Regions from separate parts of the Homo sapiens genome. Here all the other regions are linked to region 3. The links are contacts of gene promoters, found by promoter capture Hi-C in blood cells and fetal thymus (Javierre and others, 2016). All regions are on one chromosome and are shown on one strand. Each heading gives the region's core, a stretch centred on a gene start or on the middle of the fragment in contact. The rest is flanking DNA. Distances are from core to core; before and after follow the strand shown.

Region 1 (2,700 bases), core at 142-2,641, 350 kb after region 3:
GGGCTGTTCTCTTCCCCAGCTGGAGTCTTGGAGGACAGCAGCTGCCCAGAGGAAATGGAAAGTTAGGTCCGAAGGCTGCTTTGAAATGGTTGGAGGCTGGTTACCCTGAACCCAGCTCTGGTTTGGCTGCTATCAGCTGGCTCACTGGTGAAAACCTCAGAGCTTTTTTTTTTTTTTTTGGTGGGAATTAGAGCCCATGATGGGTGCATGTATTTGGAAACCATAACACTCCATTGGCACATGCGAGAGTGGTTTGCGATGGAACTCAGTCCTCACAACACTGAGGAAACACAGTTGGGAGACTGAGGCACACAGAGAAGGTGGCTCACCCAGGGCCACACGGCAGGGAGATGTGGCAGCTCTGATGGGGACGTCCAGCCTGGTGGCATCTCAGCATACACAGTTAGGGGGTTCCTCTTAGAGAGAAGGAATACAAAATCCTGCGGCGGTGGATATTCAGACATGTGTGGAGTCCCAGCAAGTGGTCCATTCTATATTAGGCAAATATTAGAGACGGCAACGCAGCCAGGCCCTCCCTGCCAGGAAGTGTGGAAACCCTGAGGAATCAGCACCCGCTGTCACTCGAACCCAGGCCTGGACTCCTGCCCCAGTGCTCTTTCCACCAAAGCACCTTCCTCGAATGCACCCGGTTTCCTGGGAGTGAGCTTCTTTGCCACTGGAATGAACAAAAAATCCAGATGAGGATTTCAGGGTGGCTCTGCCCTGCCTGCCTCACACCGCCCTTTCCAGAACAGGCGGGGGAGCGCGAGGCAGGGCGGTTCTCGCTTGGAGACGGGTGGGTGGACTGGAGGGCAGAGGCAGGCTCTGGGTTCTGCACCCATTTACATATCCCCTGCGCACTGTCCGGAGCACTCCTTCCCTTCCCTGGTTCCTCAAGGCACGGCTCCCCCAGGCAGATGAAAGCTTAATAGAGTTTTGCGACATGAAAGTCAGTCGGAGGAAAGAGCCTTGAACAGTTGTGCGTGAGAGAGAGGCAAGCGCCCGAAATTATTTTACGACAAAGGCAGCTCTCTCTGCCACAGAGGCACAGAGGAGAAAGGAGCCCAGGAAACGGGTCATTTCTTTCGTGGAAAAATGGAAATGCTCTGAAGCATTTTGGGAGACGTGCTGTGAAGCAGGTGACACCAGAAGACAAGGACACTGGGGGCTCCCTGCCGGGAGGCGCAAAAAGCAACTCCCGTTCGAGGGTCAGAGGAGCCTGGATGCTAATGTCTCTCCAAAGTGACTTGGAGCCAACTGCCGGAAAGGCCATGCCCTTAGGAGCACAGGCAGGTCCCAGCTCAGGTGAGCCTGAACCTTCTGCCCCATCAGGAGGTTCCAGTGGGAGGAGCTCAGGTGGGGAGGAGTCGGAAGTCAGGATTTCATGCCTCCCTCATTGGCTCTGGGGTTCCCTTTAAGGTGGACACTCGGTGTGGGCAGTGGGAGGCAAGAGTGAAGCAGAGGAGAGCAAGCGTGGTGGTTTAGCAAAGTAAAGCAAAGTAAACCTGGAGGGAGCAAATGACTTTGTCCTGGGTGTGAAAGGGTAAGGCCCCATTGTAGGTCATTTATTCATTCAACAAACACGGGTTGAACTGTGTCTTGGGCTGGCCTCAGAGAAGCTCAAGAAAAGAAAGATGCTGTCATTGCCCCGAGGAGCCACTGTCTGGCATGCAGGCCAACTGTGACAAGCTGTGGTCCAGGTGAGGTGGGGTCTGGACAAGCCAGGAGGGGTTCACTGTGGATGAGCCAGGGAATGGGGAGAGGCCCCAGAGACGGGCTATGAAGACCAGTCTTGGGGCAAGAACAGTAGGTGGGGAGGGGAGGGAGAACCTTCCAGCAGGAGGATGCACCTGTGGCTAAAGCTTGGAGGTGCAGGGAACGCCCCCAAGCACCTGGGGCCACAGTGCAGGGTGTGGCCAGGACAGGAGTCCTGGAGCTGGACAGCCTGAGGGGCCACATGGTGCTGGGCTCTGTTCCCGGTGGGGAGGGGTGGGACTGTCCCTGTGGACAGCAGGGGGCTACTAGGGGCCCTGGGGAGTGGCAGTGAGGGCAGATACAGGATGTGGCCAGGTGGCGCTGGCTCAGGCAAGTGGGATGGGGAGGGGAGCAGAGGCTGCAGCCAGGAGGGCAAAGGGGAGGTGGCTAGGCCATGGAGGGGAGGAGGAGCATGGGGAGAGCAGCATTGGGGGAGCTCCAGAAGGCCCCTGGTGTCAGAACAGAGGGCAGACCTGCTCCTCCTCCTCCCTCCCTCTCTGCAGCTGCAGCCGGAAGGGCCTTGTCCCTGGGAGGGCTGCCTTGACTCCTCCCCTCCAGCCCAGGTGACTTCCGTGCCTCTCTGTGTCCTCCAGGGTGCTGGGCCCCTGGCCAGCCTGTGGCTCCTCCATGCCCCTGAGTGTGTGGGCAGCTCTGCGGGATGAGAGGATGTCAGGGCAGGGCCCACCCTGAGCTAAGTCCAGTTGTCATGGATTTTCCTTTGTTTATTCCATCTTGGGGTCAGACCTAGCCCAGTGCTGGCCAACCCAGCAGTTGTGCTAGCCCAGGACATATACGGGAGGTCTCATGTGTGGCCCGAGCCCACCCTGTCTCGGTCCAGGACTAGGAGGCTGAGGGTCTGGCTGGGGGCAGCATCCCTGGACAGTGGGTGTGGCCAGGGGGGCTCCTTGCCGGGGGATATGCCACAGAGCCCCGCTTCACCACTCA
Region 2 (2,700 bases), core at 86-2,585, 320 kb before region 3:
AGTGCAGTGGTGCGATCTCGGCTCACTGCAACCTCCACCTCCCAGTTTCAAGCGATTCTCCTGTCTCAGCCTCCCGAGTAGCTGGAATCACAGGTGTGCGTCACCACACCCGGCTAATTTTTTTGTATTTTTAGTAGAGACTGAGTTGCACCATGTTGGCCAGGCTGGTCTCGAACTCCTGACCTCAGGTGATCCACCCACCTGGACCTCTGAAATTGCTGGTATTACAGGCATAAGCCACTGTGCCCAGCTGACATTATTATTAATTAAAGTCCAGCATTTATTAAAGTTTCTGTTGTTTTTACCCGGTATCCTTTTTCTGTTCCAGGATCCCATTCAGGACATTTAGTTTAGTTTGTATATAACAACGTTAAGTTGTTATATCTCTTTAGGCTCCTCTTGGTGCTGATGGTTTCTCAGACTTAACTCATTTAATTTTAATCACATTTGCTTACATTTTTGCTTGACAGATATATATATATTGAGTACCTACTATATGCAAGATAGTGGGGCTAGGGATAGAGAGCTATGGAGACCTACATAAGCCTCAAGGAGTTTATAGCCAAGAAGAATAGCATGGGGCATATGAGATGGCAGTGTCAGAAAAGAGGTATGAACGACATAATTTTTATTTATTATTATTATTACATTTGAGATGGGCCTAGGGGAACTGGCAGGATTTTGACTGGGCTTATCTTCTGTTTTGGTTCTTCACCTTTGTACTTCCTTGAACTGGTCTTTCTTCCAGTTGGCTTTTCAGATGCTTGAAGACAATGGACTTCAGTAAGTCTTGCCTTTTCTTGGTTAAAAGTCCTTGGTCTTGGCCAGGCGTGGTGGCTCATGCCTGTAATCTCAGCACTTTGGGAGGCTCAGGTGGGCGGATCACCTGAGGTCGGGAGTTCGTGACCAGCATGACCAACATGGAGAAACCCCGTCTCTACTTAAAATACAAGATTAGCTGGGTGTGGTGGTGCATGCCTGTAATCCCAGCTACTTGGGAGGCTGAGGCAGAAGAATCGCTTGAACCCAGGAGGTGGAGGTTGCGGTGAGCCAAGATTGCGCCATTGCACTCTGGCCTGGGCAACAAGAGCGAAGCTCCATCTCAGAAAGAAAAAAAAAAAAAAGTCCCTTGTCTTTTAGCCATTCATTACTAATTAGTGGCCCTTCTGTGGACCTTCCTTTCACTGAGCTCTGGCCTGCTGAAGTCCTTTAGCAATTTAGATCTCTAACTTCGGCTTGAATACAGAAAGATGTTCGACCTAGCACACAAATGAAACCCTGAATACAAAATGGAAACATACTAAACCTTGGAGCCTCTTTGCTGATAGATCAAAATCAAATGTATTGGCTGGGCACGATGGCTCATGCCTGTAATCCCAGCACTTTGGGAGGCCAAGGCGAGCGGATCACCTGAAGTCAGGAGTTCAAGACCAGCCTGACCAACATGGCTAAACCCTGTCCCTACTAAAAATATAAAAATTAGCCAGACGTGGTGGCATGTGCCTGTAGTCCCAGCTACTCGGGAGGGTGAGGCATGAGAATCGCTTGAACCTGGGAGGTGGAGGTTGTGGTGAGCTGAAATTGCACCACCGTACTCCAGCCTGGGTGACAGAGTGGACTCTGTCTCAAAAAAAAAAAAAAAAAAAAAATCAAATGTATCCACTGGCACTGCTTCTTTCTACCAGCTGAGATTTCTAAGAGGACAGCTTCAGGGTCCCGTTTATGAGCATTTTCTTTCCTGGGAAGAAGGAAAATGCTCTCCTCAATTTGTATCATTAAGGAAAAATCAAACAGTAAGCAACAGACTGAATCAGATAGTGTCCCAATTAGAGGAGCAGCGCTAGGAAGGGAACCAGCTGGTGCCTTCACAAGATCAGAGTGATATGCTTCAGAGTGTCCAAGGCTATGGGTGATGAGGCAGCATGACTGTGAAGTGCACATATGGTAATAATTGCACAAATATTTATTGAGTTCACTGTGCAGATTTCTGGACTATGAATTGAAGACATGGTTTTCTACACATGTAGCCTAGTTCCAAGGAGATAGAGCATAAGTACGTGCAATTCAGCATGTCTACAACTGGACTTACTACCCCTACATTTATGAGCAATTGTTTTTTGACAAGAGTGCCAGACAATTCAATGGGGGAAAATAGCCTTTTCAACAAATACTGGGACAAAGTACCCACATACAAAAGAATGAAATTGGACCCTACCTCACACCATATACAAAATTCAACTTAAAGTAGATTGTAAACTTCAGTGGGAAGACTAAAACTTTAGAACTCTTATGGGAGAAAATACAAGAGTAAATCTGTGTGACCTTATGTTAGACAATGGTTTCTTAGAAATAGCACCAAAAGCACAAATGACCAATAAATAAATAAATTGGATTTTATCAAAATTAAAAATGTTTCTGCTGAAAATGGTACCGTCAATAAAGTGACAAGACAATCCTGATAATGGGAGAAAATATTTGCAAATCATATATCTGATAAGAGATTTATATCTAGAATATATAAAGAACTCTTATATTTTGCTATGGTCTAAAAGTTTGTGTGCTCCCAAAATTCATATGTTGAAATACTACCCCCCGCCAAGATTATATTATTAAGAGGTGGGGCCTTTGGAATATGATTAGGTCATGAGGGTTGAACTCTCATATATGGGATTAGTGTCCTTATAAAAGAGGTTAGAGGCC
Region 3 (2,700 bases), core at 1-2,500:
TCCGACGCCACAGATTTAATACTTAAGGCCACCGCTACCCACTCTTCCGCCAGGGCTCTCAGCGCTGGCCGGGAGCTGAGGGTTTATTCGAGCCAAATCCAAGTAGATGAAGAGGCGGTGAACAAGGGCAGGTGCTGGGAGAAAAGTGGGACCAAACAGGGATAAGCGGCCGGCCCTCTCAGCAACTCCCGCCGCCAACCACCCTCCCCCGCCCCCGACATCTAAATCCTGGTGAATAAATTAACCCTCAAGGTAAAAGCAGAGAAGCCAGAGGCCCAACAGGGAAGTGCCGTGCCCGACGCCCACGGTCGGGGCATGGGAGAGCCTGGACTGCACGCCCGCCCGGGCCCTCCCGGGGACAACTGCATGGGAGGAACCCCAGAGCCGCGACCGCGCCTCGGAGAAGGTGCCCCACACCGGCTCGCCCGACCCACCCACCACCCCCCTTCCGCCCCCAACAGCTCACAAAACCGCGTAGGAAGGGGCGGCGTTCCAAGGCGTGACTCGGCGCCAGAGTGGTTCAGTGCCCTCCAAGGCCAGCCGAGTAGGGGGTCGGCTCCGTAGCCCCAACCCCGCTGGATGGCTGCGCGGGACGGGGTGGAGTCAGTCCCGAAATATACGGCCGGGGGAGGGGACCCTGCTCCCAGTGCGCAACGGATGGGGATGGGGGAGGGGAAGGAGATGAGCCCGGGACCTCGGCGCGGGGGGCAGTGGGGCATCCTCCCGGCAGTCCTGGCCTCCGCTCAGCCACGGTGCTGCCCCGGCGCCCCAGACCTCCCGTCCGAGCGTGCCCAGAGAGAATAAAGACACCTGCCCTCGCGGACAGCCCGGGCCTGAAGTCAATTTACGCCCACGAGACCCGCCCGAGGCAAGAGAACTGTGGTCCCCATTCACAGACGCGGCGACCCCCGCCAGCGGGAAGCCGCGAGGCCAGGGCGTGCTGGTGGGCCGACCTCCCTCCCCGGACGCCTCGCCCCGGCCCGGCCCGGCCCGCCGCCTCCTTACCCCCCGCGCATCCAGCCAAGAAGTCCAGCGCCATGGCCGGGTCCCCGGCGAGGCCGCCTTTCCTCCTCGTCCTCCCCCTGAGGCCCCTCGCCGGGCTGGGCGCCGTCGGGGTCCCCGAGCGCGCGGTGCCGGGGCTGGGCCTGGCCGCTCCTCCTGGCGCGGAGCCCGGGCAGGCGCGGTCAGGGATGGTGGGGATGGCGGCAGCAGCTAGACCCGCGCTGGTCCCTCGGCGGCAGCTGACTCGCTGGATCCCCTCCGGCCCGCGGTCCCTCACCTCGGGCCGCGCGCCCCGCCCCTCGTGCCTGCCGGCAGGGCCCGGGTGGGGGCGCCGAGTGAGGCCAATGGGCGGGCACGGCGCGGACAACACCCCGGGCACTGCGCTTCGCCGCCGCGCCTCATTGGCCGGGCGTGCGCGGGAGGCGGGGCGCGGGGGACGTGGTGGGCGCGCGGGCGGGGCGCGGGGACGCCTCAGACAAAGAGCGCGCTGGGTGCGCAGGTCCGGCGGGAGGGGACGCGCGGGGTGGCGGGGTTGAGCCGAGGACTCCCCCACCCGGAGTACGCGGGGTGGCTCTGGTCTGGACCGGGTCGGGAACCGGACCCTGGGTTCGGAGTCCGGCGCCGCCGCAGAACCTCAGCGCCCTAGTCTGTGCCGTGCGGACCCTGCCGCGAAAACGGCCGTGGAGCGCCGGGACGTTCCGAGGCCCGCAGACTGGGACGCCGCTAGTTGCGAAACTCCGCGAGCGGGAATCGCCCGTGGGGAGCCTCTGCCCGTCCCGCCTGCGCGCCCGCGGCGGCGGTGGCCTCCGGGGCTTCCGGACTCCTGGCCGAACCCGCCGGGTTCTGGGGGTCGGACGCGCACGGGCGCTTCCTGCGGAGCCTGAGGCTGGGATTTGGGCGGAGAGCAGGGAACCTTAAAAGGGAAAGGGGCCATGGGCAAAGGGCGCAGCAGGCCTTCGGGCCACAGCTCCTTCCCGAGGACTGCGGGTCGCGGGAGCCGCGGAAGGTTGTGGAGAGAGGGAGGTTCCTGGACTGGGCTGCAGAGTGGAGTCGGGCCAGATCGCAGCGCCTCCGTCAGCGGCGGCCGGACGGGGCGAGACCGGAGGGGCTCGGTAGGGGCCGCGCTCAGGCGCTGAAGTCGGAGGGTGCTTGGCTCTGGGTCACCAGGGTATCCATGGGCTGCGGGGATGAATGAGAGCCGAGTCTGACTCGGCCCCCCAGGAGTCCCTGACATTCGCAGTGGCAAGGGACTGCCCTGGTCCCTGTGGAGCGTCCCATTCGGTGACTTCCCACCAGCCCTTCCCCAGCGCCTCTGGAGGTCCAGACTGTCAGGTTGGAGCCTGGGAGCAGGGACGGGCCAGGCGCTTTCTCTTCGCTGTAGGAGTCAGATCAGCCTTAGGCCGGGCCCAGCTTCCTTCTTTAGGGCCTGCAGGCAGGCAAGGCCACACCGTGTGCCACGTTTCCAGGTTTAGGGTCACATGGTTCTTTTATCCAAATTCCAGTGGGTACCTACCTCCTGGAGGTGCAGGTCGAAAGGTTCTGTGTATTTGGTACTAGGACACACAGGTAGGTGTTGTCAGTAGTGCAGCCTGGTGCTAGGGGCAGGGGTCCCCAGTGCTCATGTTAGTTTCCTTTTAGAGTCTAAGTAGAATGTTAAGCAGAGACCCAAACCCTAGGTCTGCTGACTCCTAGTCCAGG

What was found. The method cuts DNA at HindIII sites, captures the fragments that hold promoters and counts their contacts. A CHiCAGO score of 5 or more calls a contact.
Region 1: a fragment that was not itself captured here is called in contact with the fragment with the promoter of SLC25A29 in region 3 in 1 of 17 cell types (megakaryocytes); the score reaches 5.6 in megakaryocytes.
Region 2: a fragment that was not itself captured here is called in contact with the fragment with the promoter of SLC25A29 in region 3 in 1 of 17 cell types (fetal thymus); the score reaches 5.2 in fetal thymus.

The regions. Positions count from the first base shown.
Region 1 is chr14:100,656,406-100,659,105 of GRCh38, forward strand. LINC00523 (long intergenic non-protein coding RNA 523) reads left to right here and starts at 863. Exons shown (of 2, transcript NR_024096.1): 1 at 863-1,305. The HindIII fragment of the contact is 938 bases long and covers 923-1,860 here.
Region 2 is chr14:99,984,664-99,987,363 of GRCh38, forward strand. It overlaps a transcript of EVL not described here. Among named protein-coding and RNA genes, the nearest start is that of EVL, 79 kb to the right of the region's middle. The HindIII fragment of the contact is 8,165 bases long and covers 1-2,700 here.
Region 3 is chr14:100,305,194-100,307,893 of GRCh38, forward strand. It overlaps SLC25A29 (solute carrier family 25 member 29), which reads right to left and starts at 1,251. Exons shown (of 4, transcript NM_001039355.3): 1 at 1,006-1,251. The coding sequence starts at 1,039. It overlaps MIR345 (microRNA 345), which reads left to right and starts at 2,666; the gene lies at 2,666-2,700. RefSeq lists enhancers at 187-753, 1,962-2,031, 2,062-2,231 and silencers at 1,082-1,181, 1,242-1,711, 1,802-1,871. The HindIII fragment of the contact is 14,672 bases long and covers 1-2,700 here.